2 separate regions of the Homo sapiens genome follow, and region 2 is linked to region 1. The links are contacts of gene promoters, found by promoter capture Hi-C in human tissues and cell types (Jung and others, 2019). All regions are on one chromosome and are shown on one strand. Each heading gives the region's core, a stretch centred on a gene start or on the middle of the fragment in contact. The rest is flanking DNA. Distances are from core to core; before and after follow the strand shown.

What was found. The method cuts DNA at HindIII sites, captures the fragments that hold promoters and counts their contacts. A contact is called where the count stands out against the background at its distance.
Region 2: a fragment that was not itself captured here is called in contact with the fragment with the promoter of RXRG in region 1 in 1 of the 25 tissues and cell types used here (liver).

The regions. Positions count from the first base shown.
Region 1 is chr1:165,442,125-165,447,611 of GRCh38, forward strand. It overlaps RXRG (retinoid X receptor gamma), which reads right to left and starts at 3,002. Exons shown (of 10, transcript NM_006917.5): 1 at 2,721-3,002. The coding sequence starts at 2,769. The HindIII fragment of the contact is 18,328 bases long and covers 177-5,487 here.
Region 2 is chr1:165,479,111-165,484,597 of GRCh38, forward strand. LRRC52-AS1 (LRRC52 antisense RNA 1) reads right to left here. Exons shown (of 7, transcript NR_026744.2): 6 at 3,239-3,497. Among named protein-coding and RNA genes, the nearest start is that of RXRG, 37 kb to the left of the region's middle. The HindIII fragment of the contact is 7,158 bases long and covers 1-5,487 here.

The sequences.
Region 1 (5,487 bases), core at 1,752-4,251:
TATTTTAATAAGTGCCGTGCAACTTGCTGCACTGTGGCAGGGGAGGTTAGAGGCCAAAGGTGACGTCCACTCTAATCCTGCTTTCCCCTGTGCCTGCTTGTGAGTCCTCTGTCCCTCTCCCTCATCACAGAAAGTTCTCAAACAGACCTCCCTGCAGACGGGGGCAGAGTCCTTTGGCTCAGCATTTAGGCCTCCTCTTAACTGGCACATGCCAACAAAATGGAAAACCTCAACAGAACTAAACAAAATAATTCTTCTCCTCCCTCAAGAATGACAAAGAAAAGTAGCTTTACAGGAGACATGTAGACAACCTACATGACCCTTTCCCCTCAAGTTCCCTATACTATACTGAACTATTTCCTTCCATAGCTGAACCATTGTGTTTACTTCTATCTGAAATCTAATTACGCTAAATATCAGAGCCCCCACAATTATGAAAATCTATGCCAGCAAAATATGAGGGTCTTTGTGGATTTAATTTTATTTTCCCAGATTCCTTATTTATTATTTTACAATAATGTCTGATTTTTAACTATTTTGCATGTTAGTCTCTGAGTAAAATAGAGGGGAAGAAAATATTGTATTAGGTAGCAAATATATGGACAACACTATAGCAGCTGTTTTTCACATGCTAACTCATTTAATTTTCACAATACTCTAAGGATGAGATTATAAATCCCATTTTAGAGAGAAAGGTGCTAAGGCTCAGAGAGGTTCACTAGCTTGCCTAAGGTCACACAGCTACTAGGTGAAAAATTGGGAACCAAACTCAGCACACTACCTCTTCCTGCCTCCTCTTCCTCCTGGTGCTCTTTTCACTATATTAAAGCAACAATATTATAAATTTGAGTAAGGGCTTTTCTGGAAGTGTTCTGCAGCTCAGCCCCATATAAATTTGGACTAGTCCCTGCCTTCTTTTGAGCCTCAGTTTACACATCTATAAGATGAGAGCCTAAGATGCTGTTTCAGGTCCTTAGGATGCTAACATTCCAAGATTCCAGCCCCCATGGAATTTTAACTAGATCTTCTTTCTCTGGCTCTTACTTTAGTTCTCTCCCTAAATCCTTCTAGCTTCAACCCTTTTATTCACCCCAACTGTCTCCAAGGGTCTCTTTGGCATTAATGAAGCCACAGTCTCACAGACCTTGGGGGGCCCACGAATCTGGCTGAAAATGAGCATGCACCTCTTACAAATGAACTAAGATGTAAAGGAAAAAGCAATTCTCAGCTCTGAATGGGACTGAGGTGGGAATTGAGGAGGCTTTTCACATCTGGAGCCCAACCATAGACTAGAGATCAAATGCCCAGGTCACAGCATTGGCCACCGCTCTCACTCTGTCATCAGACTGGCCCAAAGAACTTGAACATCACCTCGGGAACATTTCCATGGCCCTCACCCCAAGTCCAAGTACAACCTACGTTTGCTATTACACACATCATGCAGTATTATAATGTGCCTGTGTAACAAGCCTGCCCCAGTCCCAAAGGGCAGAGACTGTGTCTCATTCATATTTGTATTCCCAGTGCCCAACACCATGCCTGCCTCATAAAAACTACCCTGAATGAATGTGCAAACTCCCAGGTCTAACACCTCCTGGTGACAGAGATCACTTCTACCTTGCAGTGTGTCACCATGCCTCCCAGGGGGTTCTGCCCAGCCAAGTTAGGCAAGCTTTAGTCCCAAGCCTTCAGATGAATTGGTCCACGGAGGAAGTCTGGAGAGCAGGGACTTTTCAATTTTCAAAACCTTATAAGAATTTCTGCTGTCTTGCCTGCCAGAATCTTTCTTTGGCTCCCAGCAACATAAGCTGCATGCCTCCAACTGACAAGCGACAGGCCAGTTGGTCAGCTGTTGCTTCCATTTACTCAGAGCTGGGCGGCTGTACTGTTTCTGTCACTAAATCAAGGGATCCTTGGGACGGATGTGCTTGGGCGTTAAGGCAGCCTGAGGACCTAGTCTCCGGAAGCTTCTGTGAAGTGTGACTGGGCTGCCCTGCCTGGCACGGTGACTTGAATCTTCAGTTTGCCAATTCTCTAAGAGCCCCAACCCCCCATCCCCAGATCTCTACCCCCAGAGTGGAAGTGATTGCAGCAACTCTTGCAGTAGAATTGGGGGCAGCAGCAGGGGAGGAGAGAAGAGGCTATTAGCAAATCAAAGGAAAGAAAACAGGGGAAGGAAAACACAGTAGCAAATTAAAGCACTATGTTTTCTTTTTAAAAATCCAATTAAAGGGAAATCTGCTTTTGAGTAAAACAATCATGCCCTTGTTACAAAGTATCCCAGGAACCCTCAAGATAGGCAAAACCTTTTTAATCACATTTTTTCTCATTACAAGTTGGCTAATAGGAACATCATAGTAATTCCCCGTTAACTCTTCCACTTTTCACACCCGCACAAACACACTGGGTTATAACAATGCTCTTATTCTATCTTTGTCTCAGACACATTCTCAAGCATGTTGGTTTACTCTCTCCTTAGAATATCCCCGTATCCTCATTCTGATATGCAAACGTATCCTCACCTACAGACCATTCTTTCCTCCTCTCCTCTCTCATGCACGCGTGCACACACACGCTGAAACGCTATATACACACTATATATGCATATAAACATATATGTTCTCCTTTTAATTCAATACTAATCCAGTCATTCGTATTTCCCAATTTCTTCTCAGTCTCTCATACAGGTCCACGCAGTGAAGCCCAAGGGAGATACTTACCTCCATAGCCTGCGGGAAACTTCATGAAGTGAGAATAATTTCCATACATGTTTACTCGTCAGTTCATGTTCCTCTCCTGTGCAGCTTCTAAATATTACCGCCTCTCTCGGCTCCCAGGCACAGCCCGGCTTTCTTCAACTTGGGCTAACAAGAGTGGTCATCGCTTCCTAGCAGCCCGGGGAGCACAGGCTGGGCCAGCCCTCTGGGATTAGTCAGGAATCTGCCTCTAGATCGGAGAGTCCACATAGTGCGTTTGAGACGGCTGTGGCGGCAGCAGCTGGTGCCTGTCAGTAATCACGCATAATGCTGCCGCCGCCGCCGCCGCCGCCGTCACCGCTACTCTTGCCACCGCCGTCGCTGCTGCTTGAGATCCTGTTGCTAGTTTGATTAACTCAGGGTTGGGCTGCTGCGTGCGACTCTTCCAGCTCCCGGCGCGTCCCCAGAGGTCCCTACCGGGTGGCACGATCTATTATCTAGGAAGCCAATCGATGTATGACCGCCCGGTGTAGGTCAGGAGAGAGGCGGGAGACGGCAGGGGATGGAAGACTCTTTAGGTGCCTGTTCCTTGACTTACATCCACAAAAATCAATGGGATTTTATTAAAATGCATTTTCTCATTCGAACTTCTATCTGTCCAATGTACTTGGTATTTGATCTGTGAAAGGAGGAGGGGGTGGGGTTCAAGAGAGAACAGGGCCCTTTCAGAAGCACAAGATTAGAAAAGCGTGATACTCAATCTCCAGCTACGGAAAACTAAAATAGAGTAGCCCTTAAGTTGAGGTGGGCCTCTCCTGCTTGGGTGGCCGGAAGCATTTATCTGTGCTCTAACAATGGGAGTTTGACAAGTGCAGCTGGAGCCAGAGCTCACTCAGGTGGAAAACTTACAGGTAGGGAGGAGGGGTTGGCTTGATGTGGAGGTCTTTCTCTGCATTTATTTTATATACCATTGTTATCCTGCCGCCTGTTCAAAAACACCACTGGGTCCTCACTAACACAGAGCCTGTCTTGTGTGGAACTGACCCGAGATCAAAGAATCTAAGCACCCCGTTGATGTTTGGGTCTGTCATACAGTTTTCGTGACAAGTCACCGCTCAGCCTATACTTGAACACCTCCAATAATGGGGAGCTCACCACTTTCTCATTCCATTTCTAGATAGTTTTCACCACAAGAAAGTTTCTTATAGAGATAAAATCTGCTCCTTTTCCCTACAGCTTCTGCCCACAGGTGCTAGACTGCTCCCAGGGGCCACACAAGAGAAGCCTGAAAGACAAAAAAGTCTTTCACAGTGGGATCCTCTGCAAATCCTGAGATTGATCTGCTGTGCCCATAATCCCCCTTTCCCTAGGCATCTCTGGCTCTTTCAGTAATTCTATGTATCACCAAGGGTTCATGTCTATTCCCAACCTATCCTTTTTCTAATAATGTACTTCAGTTTACATAGATACCCTCACAGTGAGGAAGGGGGTTGGCCAGACTTGGATGCAATACTCCAGATATGGTCCAAACCTTTTCCTCATGGTATATGTGTTGGCACGGTGATGGGGTGCTGTCAACATACCCATTGAAGGTCCGTTTCATGGGCTGAGCTCTGTTGGGCTGGAAAAAAGATAAGAGATTTTCTCCTGATGCAGCATAAGACATAGAGAGCCAGAGAGGTAAGTCAAATCAGGGTCCCAGAGTAAAAAATCAAGATTCAAATGCTAGGAGAAGCCAAAACAAAAACGTAGAATAAAAGACCAGAGTCAGGAACAAAGTCATGATGACAAAGGAGGAGGCCAAAATGGGGAATCAAAGCAAAAGCATGTCACAAAGGAGGAAGAAATATCCAGGCCTTCACTGTAAAGAGCTTTGGAGAGCCCAGAGCTGCCTTGACTGTTGCTGGGATGAGAGTCCAGTGGACATAAGTAATATAGAATACAGGAGGACCATTTGCTCACTTGCATTAGGTGGGCAGCTCTGCATGTTAATTCATGTAGAACTAACTCGATAAAAATCTCCCCACCCCTACCTCCCCTAAGTTGTGTTCTCTTATGCATATTCTTCATCCCATCCTTGGGCAATTGGTTTTGGGACCTACATGAAATGCTTCCTATATTCCTCTGAAGTTAAAACTTTTTGGCTTCATTCATCATCCCAAATCTTTTAGGATCCTGCTTCTGTTGTCCAAAATATTTCTTATTCATACCCTTATTTCATGACTTCTGAAAATCTGATGAACTGCTTTTTCATATCTTATTCGACTCATTGATAAAAATGTTGACATAGACATAGCAAAGACAACATCTTATATCACTAAAAAGTCCATTCATTAGTGCCTTAGACACTTTGCTCTGCTACTCACTAGTTATATGGCCTTGAAAGGCTATATGTATAGTAAAAGCACCAACTCACCAACTCACAAGCCAACATTGCTGGGTACAAATCCCTGTTCCGCTGCTTACAGCCTCATGATACTGGCAAATGAGTAAATCTCCCTGAGCCTCAGTTACCTTATAGGGTTACCATGAGGATTAAATGAGTCAATACATGTTAAGCACTTGAAATACGCCAGATAAATACTAAATGCTCGATACATGTAATCTAATTTGAGGCAAATGATGGGGAGGAGGAGGAGGTCAAAGAGGAAGAGGATGTAACCTTAAGCAAGTCACTTTATGGCTCCTCTCCTTTTTCTCATTTGTAAAATGATGGAGCAGAGCTACATGGGTTCCAATATCATCTTCAGCTTTAAAACTGAACGCAGACTAATGCATCACCCATTCCATA
Region 2 (5,487 bases), core at 1,677-4,176, 37 kb after region 1:
CTGGAGTGCGGTGGCACAATCTCAGCTCACTGCAACTTCCACCTCCCGGGTTCAAGCGATTCTCCTGCCTCAGCCTCCCAAGTAGCTGGGACTACAGGCACCTGCCACCACACCCGGCTAATTTTTGTATTTTTAGTAGAGATGAGGTTTCACCATGTTGGCCAGGATGGTCTCGATCTCCTGACCTCATGATCCACCTGCCTCGGCCTCCCAAAGTCCTGGGATTACAGGCATAAGCCACCGTGCCCAGCCCATATACACATATCTATATGTCCTATATCTATCTGCCTACATATACTAAAATCAGTATGAGTTTATACCTCTGACTCTGACTCAGCAGCACAAGATTGAGTCTAGCTTTCCCATCTTGTTTATTTGTAACTTGTTATCAGTCTATCCATTTCTGTTTGCCTTTATTCTCCTTAATCTTCTACTAGTGTTCATTTTAACTTGATTTCAACTGTAAAAATCCTTTAGGGTTGGGCAGAGTTTCTTAAACTTGAGTGAACATCAGAATCCCCAGAGGGCTGGTTAAAATGAGGACTGCTGGGCCCAACCTCAGAGCTTCGCATTCAATAGGTCTAGGCTGGAGCCAAGTAATTTGCATTTCTAACATGTTCCCAGGTGATGCTGCTGGTCTGGAGACCTCATTTGGAGAACCTCTGATCTACAGAAACCCTGGACTAAGAGGCAAACCCCTTCTCAGTACTCTCATAGTCCTTTATACATATTTCCAATATCTCAGTCTATAAGAATGATTCAGTTGCATTTCTACTCCCCAGTAGACTATGAGCTCCTTGCAGGCTAGGATTGTGACTTTCTCATCTCTGTAGTGCCTGAACCTGGCAAAATGTCTGGCACACAGTAGGTTCATATTAAATATTTGTTGAATGAATAAGTACAAGTTTCACATGTGTACCCCATCTTTATTTCTGCTAAGCAGAAAGGAGTGCAGGAAAGGTCAGAGATGAAAAACTGAGATCCATTTGATCTCCTCATTGCCTTCCTCTTCCTCTGATGGCAGAGAGAGGAGAGAAAGAGAGCCAGCAAGGTTAGGATGGGGTCAGAGCCCACTGCCCCCACCTGTTTAAGAGCTTGAAGTTCTTAAACTTGCTCTTTAAAGCTTGAAGGCATTAACTTCAGTGAAACTTCAGGGATTTTAATATCAGAGCAAGTATCTAAGAGGGTATTTCTAACTTTGAAGCCACAAGAAGGAAAAAAATATATATATATAAATATATATTTTTATATATTAAATATATAATATATTTATATATATTTTAAGGTTCATATGGATGATTTTTATTACATATCAGAATTAACCTATTCTTTCTGTAGAAATGAAAGTGAGAGTCAATAGGTAACTATATTATATACCAATCTATTTTTGTCACAATTTATTTTATTTTATTTTTTTTTAATTATACTAAGTTCTGGGATACATATGCAGAACGTGCAGGTTTGTTACATAGGTATACACGTGCCATGGTGGTTTGCTGCACCCATCAACTCGTCATCTACATTAGGTATTTCTCCTAATACTGTCCCTCCCCTAGCCCTTCACCCCTCAACAGGCCCCAGTGTGTGTTTTTCCCCTCCCTGTGTCCATGTGTCCTCATTGTTCAACTCCCACTTATGAGTGAGAACATGCAATGTTTGGTTTTCTGTTCCTGTGTTAGTTTGCTGAGAGTGATGGTTTCCAGCTTCATCTATGTCCCTGCAAAGGATGTGCACTCATCCTTTTTATGGCTGCATAGTATTCCATGGTGCACATGTGCCACAACAAATAAACATGATAAAATCATATCTAGTTAATGTGGTGGTATATCTTACCTAAGCATTTATGTCTATAAAAATGAATTTATGTGATTATCTGCTTTACATTTTAGTATCAAAAGAAGTTATATGTATATTTTAAAATAAACCACACCTGTGGCTAAGCTTAGTGTCTGAAATGGTATCACCAGAGTAACTGGCAACACCTGTACTAGTGGCACACTGTGACTCCAGGTTTACATAACTCAGCGGACTCCTCAAGTTTCTGTAAAGCTAACTGCAAGCCTATACCTCTCAGAGAATAATATTTTTCTTAAAAGTTTCATTGCTTTCTTCAAAAAGTGTTTGAGCATGACTATGTGTAAAGCATTGGCCATGGAGGATACAGTATGATCCCTGTTCATGAGAAGCTAACATTCTAGATATTAGCTAATACTCTAGATTCAACAAGGAAAGTGATCACACCTTAAGAAACAAACGCAGGCCGGCGCAGTGGCTCACACCTGTAATTCCAGCACTTTGGGAGGCCATGGCCGGTGGATTGCCTGAGCCCAGGAGTTTGAGACCAGCCTGGGCAACATGGCGAAAACCTGTTTCTACTAAAAAATACAAAAAGTTAGCCAGGTGTGGTGGCACAATCCTGTAATCCCAGCTACTCTGGAGCCTGAGGCAGGAGAATCGCTTGAACTGGGAAGGCAGAGGTTGCAGTGAGCTGGGATCCCTCCAGCTGCACTCCAGCTGCACTCCAGCCTGGGTGACAGAGTGAGGAGAAAGAAAGAAAAAAGAAAGAAAGAAAGAAAGAAAGAGAGAGAGGAAGGAAGGAAGGAAGGAAGGAAGGAAGGAAGGAAGGAAGGAAAGAAGGAAAGGAAAGAGAGAGAAAGAAAGAAAGAGAAAGAGAGAGAGAAAGAAGAGAAGGAGAGAAAGAGAGACAGGAGGGAGGGAGGGAGGAAGGAAGGAAGGAAGGGAAGAAGGGAGGGAGGGGAGACAGGGGAGGGAGGGAGGGAGGAAGGAAGGAAAGAAGGAAAGAAGGAAGCAAGGAAGGAAGGGAAAGAAAGGAAAGAAAGAAAGAAAGAGAGAGAAAGAAAAGAAAAGAAAAAAAGAAAGAAAAGAAAGAGAGAGAGAAAGAAAGAAAGAAGGAAGGAAGGAAGGAAGGGAAGGAAGGAAGGTAGGGAAGGAAGGAACAATACTCCGAGTATATGAAAGAGGGCTATGATGTAACCGTTACTTTGATAAATATCAATGTTAGAAGAGGTCTGACATTGACTGACAAAGACCCAATGTCTCCAGACACCTGTGTTAAGTCCTAAGAAGAACGGGGAGGGAAAGTAGGGGAGGGGAAAGGAAGTGACTTGGGAAATGAGCAATAAAAGAGAGAAGAGTTTGGGCCCAAGATGCCTCTGGCTATGGTTATTTCTTGTGTTCCAAACAGCTGGCTGTGTGTTTGGAGTTCTGGATGACTCACCACGTAGGAGGAGTGCTGCGGGAAGAAAGGAGAAAAACCACAGAGGAGGGAAATCCCCTTCAGCATCCTTGGGGTGTGGCTGTGGCATTCTGTCTCAAGGCCTCACACAGGCCAGCTAACATCTCGGGCTTCAGTGCTTGGAAGCCATTTAGGGGTGATTTTAAGACTCTTCCAGAAACCCAGGGGCTCATCCAGAGAGGAAAGGGACTTCATTCAGCTTCCTTGCTTATAAACCTAAGCAACCATGGGTGAAGAATCCCTGCAAAGAAAGAAGAAATATATACTTGTCAAAATGGAGATGTTCGCTTGAGTCTTCCTACCAGGAAAAGAAGAGGAAGTTGGGGGGAAGGAAGAAGACTAGCTTTGAGCATAGAATTTCATACATTACAAACGGGGCTGCACTGCAAAACCACACAGCCCTGTGATTTAAGCTCCTCGTGTAGTCTCAGTGAGTTCCTGGGTCTTCTTATAGACTGATTTGTATCCCCCTGCCTAAATTCCTATATTGAATCTTAAACCCCAGTACCTCGGAATGTGACTATAGAGATAGGGCCTTTAAAGAGGTGATGAAGCTCAAATGAGGCTGTTGGGGTGGGCCCTAATCCAATGTGACTGGTGTCCTTATAAAAAGAAGAGATGAGGACACAAAAAGAGGCACGAGGAACAAGAGTGCACAGAGAGAGGACCCCATGCAGAGGCAGCAAGAGGACTGCCATCTGTAAGCCAAGCAGAGATGCCACAGAGGAAATCAACCTTGCTGGTACCTTGAGCTTGGACTCCCAGCCTCCAGAACTGTGAGAAAATTGATTTCTCATGTTTAAGCTGCCCATTGTGAAACTTTATCATGGCAACCCTAGCAGACAAAACACTGGGGAAAGAGCTCCCATACAATTTGAATGTGGTGTCCCGGGAGGGCCTCAACACATGCCAGCTAAATCACTGCTGTTTCATTCCTACATCACAACCTGACCTCAGACCATTACTACAAGATACTAACATTTGAGTTTTCCCACCTGCCAGACACTATATTAGGCTGCTTTCTCACATATTACCTCATTTAATTGTTAATGCAAACCTGAGGCTCAAAAGAGGTTAAGTAGTTTCCCCAAGTGTATTAGTCCATTCTCACAGTGCTATAAAGAACTATTTGAGATTGGGTAATTTATAAAGAAAAGAGGTTTAATTGATTCACTGTTCTGTAGGCTGTACAGGAAGTGTGGCTGGGAGGCCTCAGAAAACTTAATCATGGTGGTAAGCGAATGAGAAGCAAGCACGTCTTACCATGACAGAGCAGGAAAGAGAGAAAAAGGGGAGGTGCTACACACTTTCAAACAACCAGATCTTGTGAGAACTCAATCCCAGCACTTTGGGAGGCCGAGGTGGGTGGATCACAAACTCAAGAGATCGAGACCATTCTGGCCAACATGCTGAAATCCCATTTCTACTAAAAATACAAAAAAAATTATCTGGGTATGGTGGCACGCACCTGTAGTCCCAGCTACTCAGGAGGCTGAGGCAGGAGAACTGCTTGAACCTGGGAGACAGAGGTTGCAGTGAGCTGAGATCACACCACTGCACTCCAGCCTGGCAACAGAGCGAGACTCTATCTCAAAAAAAAAAGAACTCTATCACAAGACAGCACTAGCGGGATTGTGCTAAACCATTAGAAACCACCCCCATGATCCAATCACCTCCCACCAGGCCCCATCTCCAACACTGGGGTTCACAATTCAACATGAGATTTGTGTGGGGACAAAGAGCCAAGCCATGTCACCAAGATCATTGAGGTAGGGCATGCAGGACCCAAGGTAGAAGCCTAGGTCTGGTTCCAGGTCTGTGGTTCTCTCTCACACCAGGCCAGGGGTATCCATGGGAGTTGTTAAAGACCAGAGATGTTAAGGACTGCATGCCACTCTCACTTTCGAAAGTCAGCTCAGTCCTCCCAGCAATATAGTCACTGGGGTTTATAAGTCCTGTGACATAGAGAGGAAAAATATGTATTAAGTCCTAATTCTATCTTTACTGGACCTTTCAAGTCCAATTCTTAACTGACCACCAACACTATTTAGTAGCTAGTTATGAGGCATATATAACTCCAAAGATATTATTAAGGAATCACTTAAGAAAGTATTATTGCTTTCTGGATAATAGGCCACTTTGTTCTATTCAGCTCAGTTTGCTGAGGACAACTCTATCTGGAGCTCCTTGTCAATATCTATTTTTAATGGGATATATTTATAATTGGATGT